Linked DNA regions of Homo sapiens: regions 1, 2 and 4 are each linked to region 3. The links are contacts of gene promoters, found by promoter capture Hi-C in blood cells and fetal thymus (Javierre and others, 2016). All regions are on one chromosome and are shown on one strand. The core of a region is centred on a gene start or on the middle of the fragment in contact, and the rest is flanking DNA. Distances in the headings are between cores, read along the strand shown.

Region 1 (3,082 bases), core at 577-3,076, 290 kb after region 3:
AACTCATATTCAAATAGAATCATTTAAAGTGTTATGTGATAAGGCAAGGTCATATTGGAAACAATTAGGCCTCTGATTAAATATGACTGATGTCTATATAAAAGGGGGAAATTCAGAGACAGCATGCATATAACAGAAAAATTATATCAAACACACATGGAAATGATAGACATCAACAAGTCAAGGAGAGAGACCTGGAACATGTACTTCCCTCACAGGCTTCAGATGAAAACAACATTGCCAAAACCTTAATTTCTGAACTGTGAAAAGATAAATTTAAGCCACTTGGTTTACAGTAATTTATTATGGCAGTGCTGGTAAGTTAATACACTTACTAAGTATCCTGAGCTATAGATATATTCTGCTACACTATATGGCTTAAAGATAATTACCCCTCACCAAATAGTAACTCCTTTCTCTGTCTGCTGCTCTGCTGACGGGAAGAGTCCAAAATGACTAGGCGATAACGATTCCTTTTGATTATAACAAAGAAACAGAGAAGCAAATACTATAATTTTTATTCACATGGAAATTTTAAAAAGCCAAAGTCATCTACTGGATTATAACTTGATAGAGTGATTAGCTGTTTGGAAATGAGTAAGCGGATATAATTGGGAGAGAATGGCATTAATTTCTATTTCCTAACCTGGTAATGGGGACATAGATGTATTTACAATGTAATACTATATCAGGTTGGAAATTAATAATTTGCATTCTTCTCAAGTGAATGATATACCTAGACAATGTTTTCAACATGTTAGAACTCCACGATGAATCAGGTGTCATCTCAACTCATCTAATCCCTTCATTGAAAAGAAATAGAAGAAATTACTTCTACTTACTTCTTCTTCTAGTTACTGCTAGTAACTAGGTTTAGGGCTAGAGCCACAGCACATGCTGGTTGGCCTGAATTTCAACGCTTACTTCTAGTTACTGCTAGTAACTAGGTTTAGGGCTAGAGCCAGAGCACATGCTGGTTGGCCTGAATCTCAAGAAGTTACGTGATAGAAAGTCCTCCATTCTCATCCCGGAAATCCCCACACTCCCAGACAAGTCAGAATGAATGGTCGTCCTAGGGCATACATTGCTTGATGCTGTCTAAATCTCAGCAGATTTCTCTGCATCCACCTGTTCTCGATCTGCTCTGTCGCATGGAACACACTGTGCAGTCACCGTCTTCCCAAGTGACATTCAAAGAACTGAAAGACACAGATGATGTGGGTGGCACAAAGAGATGCCTGTTAGTCTTGAGTCAGAATTTGGTGGGTGAATAGTCTTGGGCCCAGGCATGGATTCATTTTGTCACTGTAAATATATCAGCATCATGCTTCTCCCCACAGACACTTCCAAGTCTATATACAGCCAAACATGAGGCTGGCCAGAGAGAACTTCCTGAGCCCCCCGGATCAACAGGAACTGTCACATGACCAGATGATGGTCAGAGCAGGAATGATGCTGATGATGAGACGGGCTTCCTTTTATCTGAAACAAACTTTCTATGAGTAACTCACAATTAAGAAACAGATTAAACCCTTAGTTTAAAAGGTTCATAAGATTTCAGTAACAACTTCCCCTTTGACAATCCCAAATGGACTGTGGAAAACAATGTAAACAGCAACAAGGAAAAGTCCTGCTGATTGGTGGAAACTTTGGAGGCCAGGTGTATAAAAGGTCCAGATTGCAAGGGGTCATCAGATTTTGGGAAACTCACCTCTTAACAGAAGCCCACCCTCCATCCCTGACACCATGACCCACTGTTGCTCCCCTTGCTGTCAGCCTACCTGCTGCAGGACCACCTGCTGGCAGCCCACCACTGTGACCACCTGCAGCAGCACACCCTGCTGTCAGCCCTCCTGCTGTGTTTCCAGCTGCTGCCAGCCTTGCTGCCACCCAACTTGCTGTCAAAACACCTGCTGTAGGACCACCTGCTGCCAGCCCATCTGTGTGACCAGCTGCTGCCAGCCTTCCTGCTGTAGCACACCCTGCTGCCAGCCCACATGCTGTGGGTCCAGCTGTGGTCAGAGCAGCTCCTGTGCACCTGTGTACTGCAGAAGAACCTGCTACCACCCCACAAGTGTTTGTCTGCCTGGTTGCCTAAACCAGAGCTGTGGCTCCAACTGCTGCCAGCCCTGCTGCCGCCCAGCCTGCTGTGAGACCACCTGCTGCAGGACCACTTGTTTCCAGCCCACCTGTGTGTACAGCTGCTGCCAGCCTTCTTGCTGCTAATCAACTCCCAAGAGAACTACCATCCTCACACAACAACCTTCAGCTCAACTGACTTGTCTTTTGAGGGACTAATTTACTTTGCTGCTGACAGCCACCATGCTCTCACCCAAATTTTTATGAATTCTCTACATGTTTAAAATCTTGGGAATCTGCTTGAGGGAGGGCAGAATACTTCATCCTCATTCCCTCTTTCCTTACACCTTGTGGATCATGTGCCAGCTTCGTCTGTTCTTAATTTGGAGTCATGATCTCAGCTTTGTCTCAAAAATCAAGAGCTTCATTCTTTGCTTCTAAGGAATTTAGGTTTCTGCAACTGATCAATCATCTTTGCAATTATATTTTCATTTTAAATATCCTTCTCATGGTTCTTGTATCCTTCTTTCTTCTTTTCACGATAACTTTGGGTTATGTCTCTGGTAGCAGAGATTCTTACCTATATGTTTCTGAATAAACTCTGAACCATCTTCATCTCATATAGTGTTTTGTTTTATTTGAAAGCATTCCTGATATGGGATTTACACACATATCACATACCATAGGTATTATCCAATTTGATTCTCAAAACAGATGGTCGTGTATTATTAACTCCATTTTTTCAGCTGAGAACAATTTAATGTGTGATGTTATGTAGCTAGTAAAGGGCAGACTCTGGTCAAAGGTGAGGTCCTCTCTTTCTGCCCAAGGACACTTACGTTTAACTCCCAATATAGTAGAAAAGACACTGGAAGTCAGCACTAGCAAGACATGTACTTGAGTTTATTTAACAATGAGAGGAATAATCTGACATATTTGCAGATAACACTTTTGTTCACACACAAAAAAATCCCAAAGTAGTTCCCCACACCTCAGTGAGCAA
Region 2 (3,031 bases), core at 112-2,611, 270 kb after region 3:
AACATAATAAATGCATTTAAAGACATAAAGGAAGCTATTACCAATATAGACAAATACAAAAACACACACACACACAACATGAATAAGAACCAACCAGAGACTATCCTGCAACGGCATTAACATTTTGGTTTTGATCATTGGGCTGTGACAAGAAACACACACTGAAGTACATAGGGATAAAGTGGTATTTAGTGATAAAGGGAAATTCTATCTGCAACTTACTTTTAAAAACCAACAGTAGTAACACATATATGTATAGAAATAATGTTAAAGAAGCATGGTAAAATGTTAACATTTGAGGAATCCAAGTGAAGGCATATGGGAATCCTTTGTACTGTGTTTACAATTTTCTATGAGTATGAAATTATTTCAAAATGAAAAATTAATAAAAACAAACATGTATAATGGGGTAGGAGACACAAGCAGGCATAATATCTGATACTAAATTAATAATAGAGCATATAGTCATTAAAGTACACAATAAGTGAGATAAGCTGCAGAAGATATACTGACTTGGAAGACCAAAATGGAAGAATCTCTAATGTTAAGGAAAAAATGTGTAACTCAATTATAATGAAAATATTACATATCAAGACTTGTGGGGTGTTATAAAATGATCTTTGATAAAATGTACACACTTTAAATAGCCTTTAATATTTAAATATTAAACAAGAATAAAACCTAAAAATAAATGAACTAAGTGTTCACCTAAGTGAATAAGAAAAAGGAAAACAACCAAAATAGCATAAAATGTAAATCAATGAACTAGTTAAAAACGACATCACAGAGAAGATGAACAAAGCCAAAATTTCTTTTTCAAAAAAAATACCAATAAATGATAAGCCATTGAAAAGATTGATCAAGAAATGTAAAGAAGACACAAATAAATAATATTCTGGATGAAAATGAGAACATATCCAGCAATAAAGCTGAAAATGTTCCATAATCAAAGGAATCATAATCAAACCTGTTTCCAGTATTTACATGGAAAAGTATTTACATGGAAAAGATGAACTTGGATTCTGATCACTCATCATGTAGGAAAAAAATCAATTCCAGGTGTATCAATATCTTGAAGGTCAAAAAAAATCTTAAATCCTCACTAGATGATTTATGTGATTTTTTTTATTTTTAGGTAGATAAATACCTCCTGACCAAGACAAAAATATTATTATTCGAAAAGAAATGACTGATAATTTTAACTGGATAAAGCTTTAGAAAACTTAACCATCAAAAATCACATTTCAGACTGAGAGAAGGAATTGTGATAAACCCCTTTAACGCCTATCTCTCCTCTGCTCTCTATGTGGACTCTATTTCTTCTGGCATTTGGCCATAACAGCTGCAGCTGCTGCAGCAGGTGGACTGGCAGCAGGATGTGCTGCAGCAGCAATTTTGAAAACATACAAACCCATGTGTTTCTTTTTTTACCCCATGTGTCTTCCTTCAAGGATCATAACCCAAAGCTGATTGTCATCCAATATCTGCAAACAGTTGTTTTATATATTTACAAAGCTTTTATTATTGTTTATAGCAGGAGGATAAATCTTATACTAGCTTCTACATTACAGGTGGCATCACAAGCCCTCCCTAAACTTGGTTTTTAACTCATCACCATGACTCAACATCATCCTATCTTCAGAGGTACTTTCCAAAGTAAATAGCAATAAGGAAAAACAGATGGTGACTAACAATTGTCCTGACATCTCACTAAGCTACATAGGACCTGTTAGATGACCAAATACTGTACTCAGCTTTAAAAATGAGGATCAGTGCTTAATTGGTAGGGAGAATGATTCATTTCTCAGTTCAGGAAAATAGTCCTGACTGGTTATTTGTCAATTAAGAAAGCAAATAAATCAATTACTCAAAGAAAATTCACAGCACTGAATAGACAACTTCCTCCTTGGGACATTTCCCAAAAGACTAGAGAAGTATCAAAGACAAGTTCTGCTCATTAATCAAAACTTTGGGGTACCATGTATAAAAGGTTCAGATTGAATAACGTTATCAAACTCTAGGAAACTCACCTCTGAACAGGAGTGCACCCTCCACCCCTGACGCCATGACCCACTGCTGCTCCCCTTGCTGCCAGCCTACGACGTGCTGCAGGACCACCTGCTGTGTGTCCAGCTGCTGCCAGTCTTGTTGCCACCCCCCCAGTTGCTGCAACACATCCTGCTGCCAACCTAGCTGCTGTGCACCCGTCTACCAGAGAACGTGCTACCATTCCATGTGTGTCTGCCTGCCTAGTTGCCTAGACCAGATATGTGGATCCAGCTGCTGCCAGCCCTGCTGCCTGCTGCCCAGCCTACTGTGAGGCCACCTGCTGCAGGACCACTTGCTGCCAGTACACCTGTGTGACAAGCTGCTGCCAGTCTTCCTGCTGCAGCACACCCTGCTGCCAGCCCACCTGCTGTGGGTCCAGCTGTTACGGCCAAACTGGCAGTGGGTCCAGCTGCTGCCAGCCCAGCTTCTGTGCACCCATCTACTACAGGAGAACTTGCTACCACCCCATGTGTGTCTGCCTGACAGGTTGCCTAAACCAGAGCTATGGATCCAGCTGCTGCTAGCCCTGCTGCCAATCAGCCTGTTGTGTGTCTAGGGGCTGCCAGCCTTGCAGTTATTGATCAACTTACCACAGATTACTACCTGCATAGAATAAACTTCCATCATCAGACCAGCCAGGTATCCATTTATTCTTTTTTTTTTTTTTTTTTTTTTTGAGACCCAGTTTCGCTCTTGTTGCCCAGGCTGGAGTGCAATGGCATGATCTTAGCTCACCGCAACCTCCACCTCCTGGGTTCCAGCCATTCCCCTGCCTCAGCCTCCCGAGTAGCTGAGATTACAGGCATACGCCATCATGCCCAGCTAATTTTGTATTTTTCGTAGAGATGGGGTTTCTCCATGTTGGTCAGGCTGGTCTCAAACACCTGACCTCAGATGATCCACCCGCCTTGACCTCCCAAAGTGCTGGGATTACAGGCATGAGCCACCACGCCCAGGCCAGATATCCATTTCTATGGCAAAC
Region 3 (3,161 bases), core at 65-2,564:
CGAACCTTCTCCAGGTAGGAGGCCAGGCGGTCGTTGAGATTCTGCATGGTGGCCTTCCCATTTCCGCCTAGTAGGGGGCTGCTTCTTCCAGAACCCCAAGACCCTCCAGGGGGTGGGCAGCTCCGCGTGGTGAAGGACAGGGAGATGCGGGCTCCCCCCGCACCGCCATGGACGGTGGGAGCCCTGGGGAAGCTCCTGGGCCGGCCCCAGCCACCTCCGGCGCCATGGAAGGAGGCCGAGGGGGTCTGGCTGAAGCTGTGTCCGGAGTTCATGGTCCCATCTGTGTTTGGGACGGGGCTGAGCTCTGCTCCACTCCCTGGCACCGCAGAACTGAGCCGCCCCAGACTGCCCTGGATGGTTTTATGGCCTTTGCTGTGGGAGTTCCCTTCTCTGACAATTGTACCAACAAGATTGTATCATTGTGCAACTTGTGTTTCCTCTTGGTCAATCCCAAAGTGCCCCTGGGCCTTCGCACACTGTTGTTGTTTAGAGCCACATCAATATGACAGTTTGCTTCCTCCCTTCCCCTGGTAACCCGGAGGTGTGGCCCACGACATCAGGCGGGTATTGGGCTCAGGTATCTTTCTAATCTTGCCGTGAAGTTTTTCCATTGTTCATTTACCTGGAATGGGTTAGGTTAAAGTCCACCCAAAAGAAAGCATATTCGATGTAGTATAGATTTCCTTAAAAAAAACCAAAAACCAAAACCAAAACAAAACAACAACAACAGCAACAAAAAACCAGACATTAAACAACAGAGATACACACACCTTTTTCCACCCCCAATAAGCCCCACCTCTAAAGGGAGGGTGAGCGAGCCTGGAGAAGGGAAAGCCAGCTCAGAACAGGATCTCAGGTCCCAGAATAAAGCTTGCTGTGCTGAGGCAGCCGAGAAGGTGGTGAATATCTGATGCCTTTGTGGCAGTCACTGTTTGAAGGAAAGTACTTTCAAAGGACTCGCTCTTAAGAACAAACCCTCAATTATAGATGTAATTAATTAATGAATGACCGAACCTTCCACTTCCAGGGTGCCTTTCATCCCAGCACACCTCAAAACCAAACAACCCTGGCCTGCGCTCAGGATTTCCCTTGGCCCTGGGGGAGGAATGTAGCCGTTGTTAGCAGCCCCGGACCCCGGCTGAGCCTGCCACGGCTGGGCTCTGTGTGTCTGTGACCTGCAGAGGGACGATGGAAAACAGGAAACCTGCCATGGGCTGTCAAATGTGGTTGATGAATCTTATATTTCATCTGCCAAGGTAAAGGTTAGGAATGAATAAAGAAGCAGTCTGGGGGCGGGAGCCACGTGCTAGTTACTGGCAGTTGGATTTAAAGGGGACTTACAAATAAAATATCAGCGCAGGAAGGGCTTCTGGCCTTTCTGGTTCCAAGCCACTAATTGGACAGATGAGGAAAGCTGAGGCCTATGGTGGTGGGGAGGTTAGTGGCAGAGCCAGGGCTAGATTCTTTCTCCACATAGCACTGTTATCTTGGGTTGAATCTTGACAGGTCCTGTACCACACTTCTCTTTCATAATAATAGGACTTGCCAATTGGTGTAGCTCTTTTATATTCTTTATTGAATCCTCACAACTCTTTATGTATCCAGGCAAGGGTTGTTGTCTTCATTTTGCAGACAAAGAATCAGGGTCTCATAGGGATGAATGATCCAGAGCTGATTCGCATGTACAGTGTAATTGAGCACATGAATTCATAGGTGACACTGCCCGAGTCTGTGCTGTCCTCCCTGCCTGGAAAGTCACTCACCCCTACCTCTTCTATAGTTCAAGGGCTACCTCCTTCAACAATCATTTTCTGAATTCTCCTGCATGAGTTGGGTGACCCTCTAGGAGGAAACTGCCTCTTCTGGATGCCGAGGTCCTCCAGAGGGGCAGACACCTTGGCATCCCACCTCATGGTGGAAGCTGGGAGCCCCTAGCCAGGCGCAGCCACCTCCTGTGCCTGGGATGAAGTCCACTCCGTTCTTTCACTCCATTATACTGCATTTGCCACACCCTTCTGAGACCGCAGGCTTCTTGAAAGCAGAGTTTATGTCTTCCATTTTTGAGCACCAAAGTCTGGTTTCTTGGTGGTATTTTGCAAATGTATGTTGACTCAATCATAAACTTTTTAGAGTCAGGATTTTAACACAGGTCTCCTGATGCCATCAACTTCTGCTCCTTTTAGGACTGTGAGTTATAGAACTAGAAAGTAGGAAAACGCCTCTCCTGGGTATAGATTAACCATCCATGAAGGCCAATCTTTTCCAATTACAAATAAAGCCACCCAAAAGCACACCAGCTCTGCTCCTCCCAGTCTTACAACAAAACCTTATCAGGGAAGAGTCTCTGAATATTTTTTATTTCACTGTGCACGAGCTGGAAAAATGAGCCTCCAAGCCTCAGGGAAGCTTGGAGAGTGCTTAGAAAGAGTGCCGACAGTCACTTACATCTCAGATATGAGAAAAAGACAAAAGAGACAAGTGATAAAAATAGAGCAAATGAGGGAACTAGAGAGACTTGTTTGGCGAGTGGTGGCAACCAGTGTTCTGTGGATGTGGACGGTTCCTGGTCATCAAAGTTATGGTCAGCTCTGGTTCCTGTTCGCCTGGACCCAGACTTACCAAGGAAGAAAACATTTACCTTTAGCATGTGCAAGGGCCGGGCTGCACTGCCTTTTTCTAAATTCTCTCACCAGAATCTACAATGAAATTAATGCTTCTCTAATTATTTCAGGCATGTCTGAGTGGCAGTGACTTATCAACCCCATAGATTTGGCCACTGTCTCATTTTATGTCCATGTGTGGGAGTTTTGATTTATAGGACTTATCCTTGAGCAAAAGATTTCTTGTGTCATAGCAGGACCAGGGCCAGGAAAAACTGGTGGTGAGATCTGAGAGCACTGGGGAGAAATAGTCTCTTCTAGTACTGTTATATGATGGTTTCCCATAACTTCTTTTTTTTTTTTTCTCAAGATGGAGTTTTGCTCTGTCACCCAGGCTGGAGTGCAATGGCGCAATCTTGACTCACTGCAACCTCCGCCTCCTGGGTTCAAGCGATTCTCCTGCCTCAGCCTCCCGAGTAGCTAGGATTACAGGTGCGCACCACCATGCCCAGCTAATTTTTTGTATTTTTAGTAGAGACGGGGTTTCACCATGTTGGCCAG
Region 4 (3,302 bases), core at 428-2,927, 490 kb after region 3:
TTTCCCCTCCCCTTTGTTCCCTGATCCTAGAGTTTCTTTATCTACATGCTAAGGCAGGAAATTTCCCCTTATTTACCTCATACCAAGACCTATTACAAAATCCTTTAATGCAGCATAGTAGAGGTTTAAGACAATGAATTTTGGATCCAGCCTGCCTGGGTTCAGATTCTGGTTCTATCATTTATTAGCTGTGTGAACTTGGGCTGGTGACTTGACCTCTCTGTGCCTCAAATTCTGCTTATGCACAATGGAGTGACAATAGCACCTAGCTAATGGATTTAAGTTTTAAAAAAATCCATACCTGTAAATCACGTAAAATAGTGTCTAGCACAGAGTACATGGTAAGCACTAAATAAGTGTTGTGTTTTTTAATGGATTTTACTGTTACTGGTGTGTTTACATGCTTACACCATTCATAATTCAAAAATGCTTATTAAATTACTTATTTTTTACTTATTTAAGTTAGCAAAGATCAGAAGTTTAGTCTTACTAAAAAGCTTTTGCACAGCAAAAGAAACAACAGAGTGAAAATACAACCTACTGAATGGGAGAAAGAATTGTAAATCATATATCTGATAAAGGGTTAGCCTCCAAAATATATAAGGAAGTCCTACAACTCAACTGTAAAAAATAATTTTTTTTAATTTAAAAATGGGCTAAGGATTTCTATAGACATTTCTCTAAAGTAGACGTACAAACGGCCATCAGGTATATGAAAAAATGCTCAAAGTCACTAGCCATAAGGGAAATGCAGATCAAAGCCATGAGACATCACTTCACACCACTCAGGATGGCTACTATCAAAAAAAAAAAAAGACAACTAGTATTGGTGAGGATATAGAGGAGCTGGAACCATTGCACGCTGTTGGGAAAATGCAAAATGACGCAGCCACTATGGAAAACAGTATGGAGATTCCTCAAAGAATTAAAAATAGAATTACCATATGAGCCAACAATCTCACTTCAGGGTATTTATCCAAAAGAATTGAAATTGGGATCTCAAAGAGATGTTAACACTCCTGTGGTCATTGCAGCAGGAGTCACAATAGCCAGAATGTGGAAACTACCTAAATGTCCGTTGACAGATAAATACAAAAAGAAATTGGTATGTGCAAACACTGGAATTCCATTCAGCCTTTAAAAAGGACGAAATTCTGCAATACGCAACGTGAATAAACCTCGAAGACGTTATGCTAAATAAAATAAGCCAATCACAGAAAGACAAATACTGCATGATTCTGCTTATATGAGGTATCTAAAATAGATTCAACCCTGAAGACATTATGCTAAATGAAATAAGCCGATCACAGAAAGACAAATACTGCATAATTCTGCTTATACAAGGTATTTAAAATAGGCAAATTCATAGAATCAAAGAGTGGAATGGTGGTTTCCAGAGGCTGTGGGAAAAGGGGAAATGGAAAGTTACTGTTCAATGAACATAAAGTTCCAGTCAAGCAAGATGTGTAAGGCCTAGAGATCTACTGTACTGCATTGTACCCAGAGTCCATAGTAATTTATTGTACACCTAAAATTTTATTAAGAGGGTAGCTCTCATGTTAGGTGTTCTTTCTATGATAAAGTAAAATAAAACAAAATAGATTAATGTCATGATTGTAGCAAAATAAAGAAAACATGCACTTTCATACACTGTTGAGGGGAAGAATAAGTTGTGCAACCTCTTTACAAAATAGTTCAGCAGTATCTGTTAAAATTACAAATGCTTTTTTTTTTTTTTTTTTGAGACGGAATCTCACTATATTGCCAGGCTAGGATGCAGTGGCATGATCTCAGCTCACTGCAACCTCCACCTCCCGGGTTCAAGCAATTCTCCTGCCTCAGCCTCCTGAGTAGCTAGGACTACAAGCACATGCCACCATGCCCAGCTAATTTTTGTGTTTTTTGTAGAGACGAGGTTTCACCATGTTGGCCTGGATGGTCTCGATCTCCTGACCTCATGATCCACCCGCCTCGGCCTCCCAAAGTGCTGGGATAACAGGTGTGAGCCACCATGCCCACATATACACTATCGACCAATAATTTCCGCCTATAGGAATTTAATCCTATAGACATACTTACATAGACAGAAGTATAAGGATAAAAAATATAAGGGTACCCTATAGAAGTCCTTGGGGTGTTAGGCCAGGAGCCATCTCTGCTGTTTTGTGCCTCCTTCAGCCTATGGATTTCCCCTCAATGTCCCCTCAATCCATTCCTCTGTGTCTCTCAGGGGACCATTTCCTATGGGTGTTAAGCTGTGGATGATCATGGGGCAAAGGTGCAGTTAGTAGAAAGGAGAAAAGCATAATCATGGGAACTTGAAGAGTGAATGATTTAGGAATTAGGGAAAATAATAAATTCTGAATAAGTCATTGTAGAACTATTTATTTGGCCCACTTCATGAATTACGTGCAGTAAAATAGGGAAATACTGACAACCCTGTTTCATTTTCTTCATTAAAAATACAATAGTATTGTGGCTGGGCCTGGTGGCTCACACTTGTAATCCCAGCAGTTTGGGAGGCTGAGGCAGGCAGATCACCTGTCAGGTGTTCAAAACAAGCCTGGCCAACATGTAGCAGTAGTAGTAGTAGCAAAACCCCATCTCTACTAAAATACAAAAGTTAGCTCAGCATGGTGGCACATGCCTGTAGTCCCAGCTACTCTGGAGGTTGAGGCAGGAGAATTGCTGGAACTCGGGAAGTGGAGGTTACAGTGAGCCGAGGTAGCGTTGCTGCACTCCAACCTAAGCAACAGAGAAATACTCCATCTCAAAAAAAAAAAAATCCAGTAGTATTGAATACTCTGATTTTGAAAGGTGATTTTATATTTCTCAGCTCAAGAGATGCCTTCAAGGGGAAGCTTTCTCCAGCTTCACTGAGCATTCAATCAATTCCTCTTCTCTCTACTCACATTGACCCTTAGTTTACCTTGATGTAACCCTCTTCATTCTGTTGTTAGTGTTCTTGAAAGTCCCTTGGAAGCAGGAATTTTGTCTTACTGCTTTTGTCTTGTTCATCTCTGTAATTCCCAGTACATCACCTGACATAACAAAGCACTCAATCGATAAAAACAGAAGTGACTAAATGAGCTCAGCTCTGGAGCAAGTCATACTCAGTATTATCCTCCACAGTATCACGTGCATGGTGATTCTCAGTAACTGTGTGCTGAGGGAATGCCTGCATGCGTACATGAATAGACATAGTATAAAGCCAAACCATAGCATGTTGCACCAATGATACAAAATCCCTGACTTCTAAACTCCGTGGTGCTAAATCAAGTCAGAATTAAGGCAAGACTTGT

Evidence for each region. The method cuts DNA at HindIII sites, captures the fragments that hold promoters and counts their contacts. A CHiCAGO score of 5 or more calls a contact.
Region 1: a fragment that was not itself captured here is called in contact with the fragment with the promoter of KRT23 in region 3 in 1 of 17 cell types (endothelial precursors); the score reaches 5.7 in endothelial precursors.
Region 2: a contact is called between a fragment that was not itself captured here and the fragment with the promoter of KRT23 in region 3, in 1 of 17 cell types (endothelial precursors). The highest score is 8.0, in endothelial precursors.
Region 4: a contact is called between a fragment that was not itself captured here and the fragment with the promoter of KRT23 in region 3, in 1 of 17 cell types (endothelial precursors). The highest score is 5.6, in endothelial precursors.

Annotation. Positions count from the first base shown.
Region 1 is chr17:41,230,756-41,233,837 of GRCh38, forward strand. It overlaps KRTAP9-3 (keratin associated protein 9-3), which reads left to right and starts at 1,694. Exons shown (of 1, transcript NM_031962.3): 1 at 1,694-2,699. The coding sequence starts at 1,747. The coding sequence ends at 2,226. The HindIII fragment of the contact is 5,484 bases long and covers 1-3,082 here.
Region 2 is chr17:41,210,641-41,213,671 of GRCh38, forward strand. It overlaps the pseudogene KRTAP9-12P. Among named protein-coding and RNA genes, the nearest start is that of KRTAP9-2, 14 kb to the right of the region's middle. The HindIII fragment of the contact is 303 bases long and covers 1,211-1,513 here.
Region 3 is chr17:40,936,332-40,939,492 of GRCh38, forward strand. KRT23 (keratin 23) reads right to left here and starts at 1,315. Exons shown (of 9, transcript NM_015515.5): 1 at 1,015-1,315; 2 at 1-622. The coding sequence starts at 272. All of the region lies in intron 1 of LOC107985072 (a long non-coding RNA gene), which reads left to right. The HindIII fragment of the contact is 1,536 bases long and covers 869-2,404 here.
Region 4 is chr17:41,430,669-41,433,970 of GRCh38, forward strand. No RefSeq gene overlaps it. Among named protein-coding and RNA genes, the nearest start is that of KRT37, 7.7 kb to the left of the region's middle. The HindIII fragment of the contact is 2,364 bases long and covers 496-2,859 here.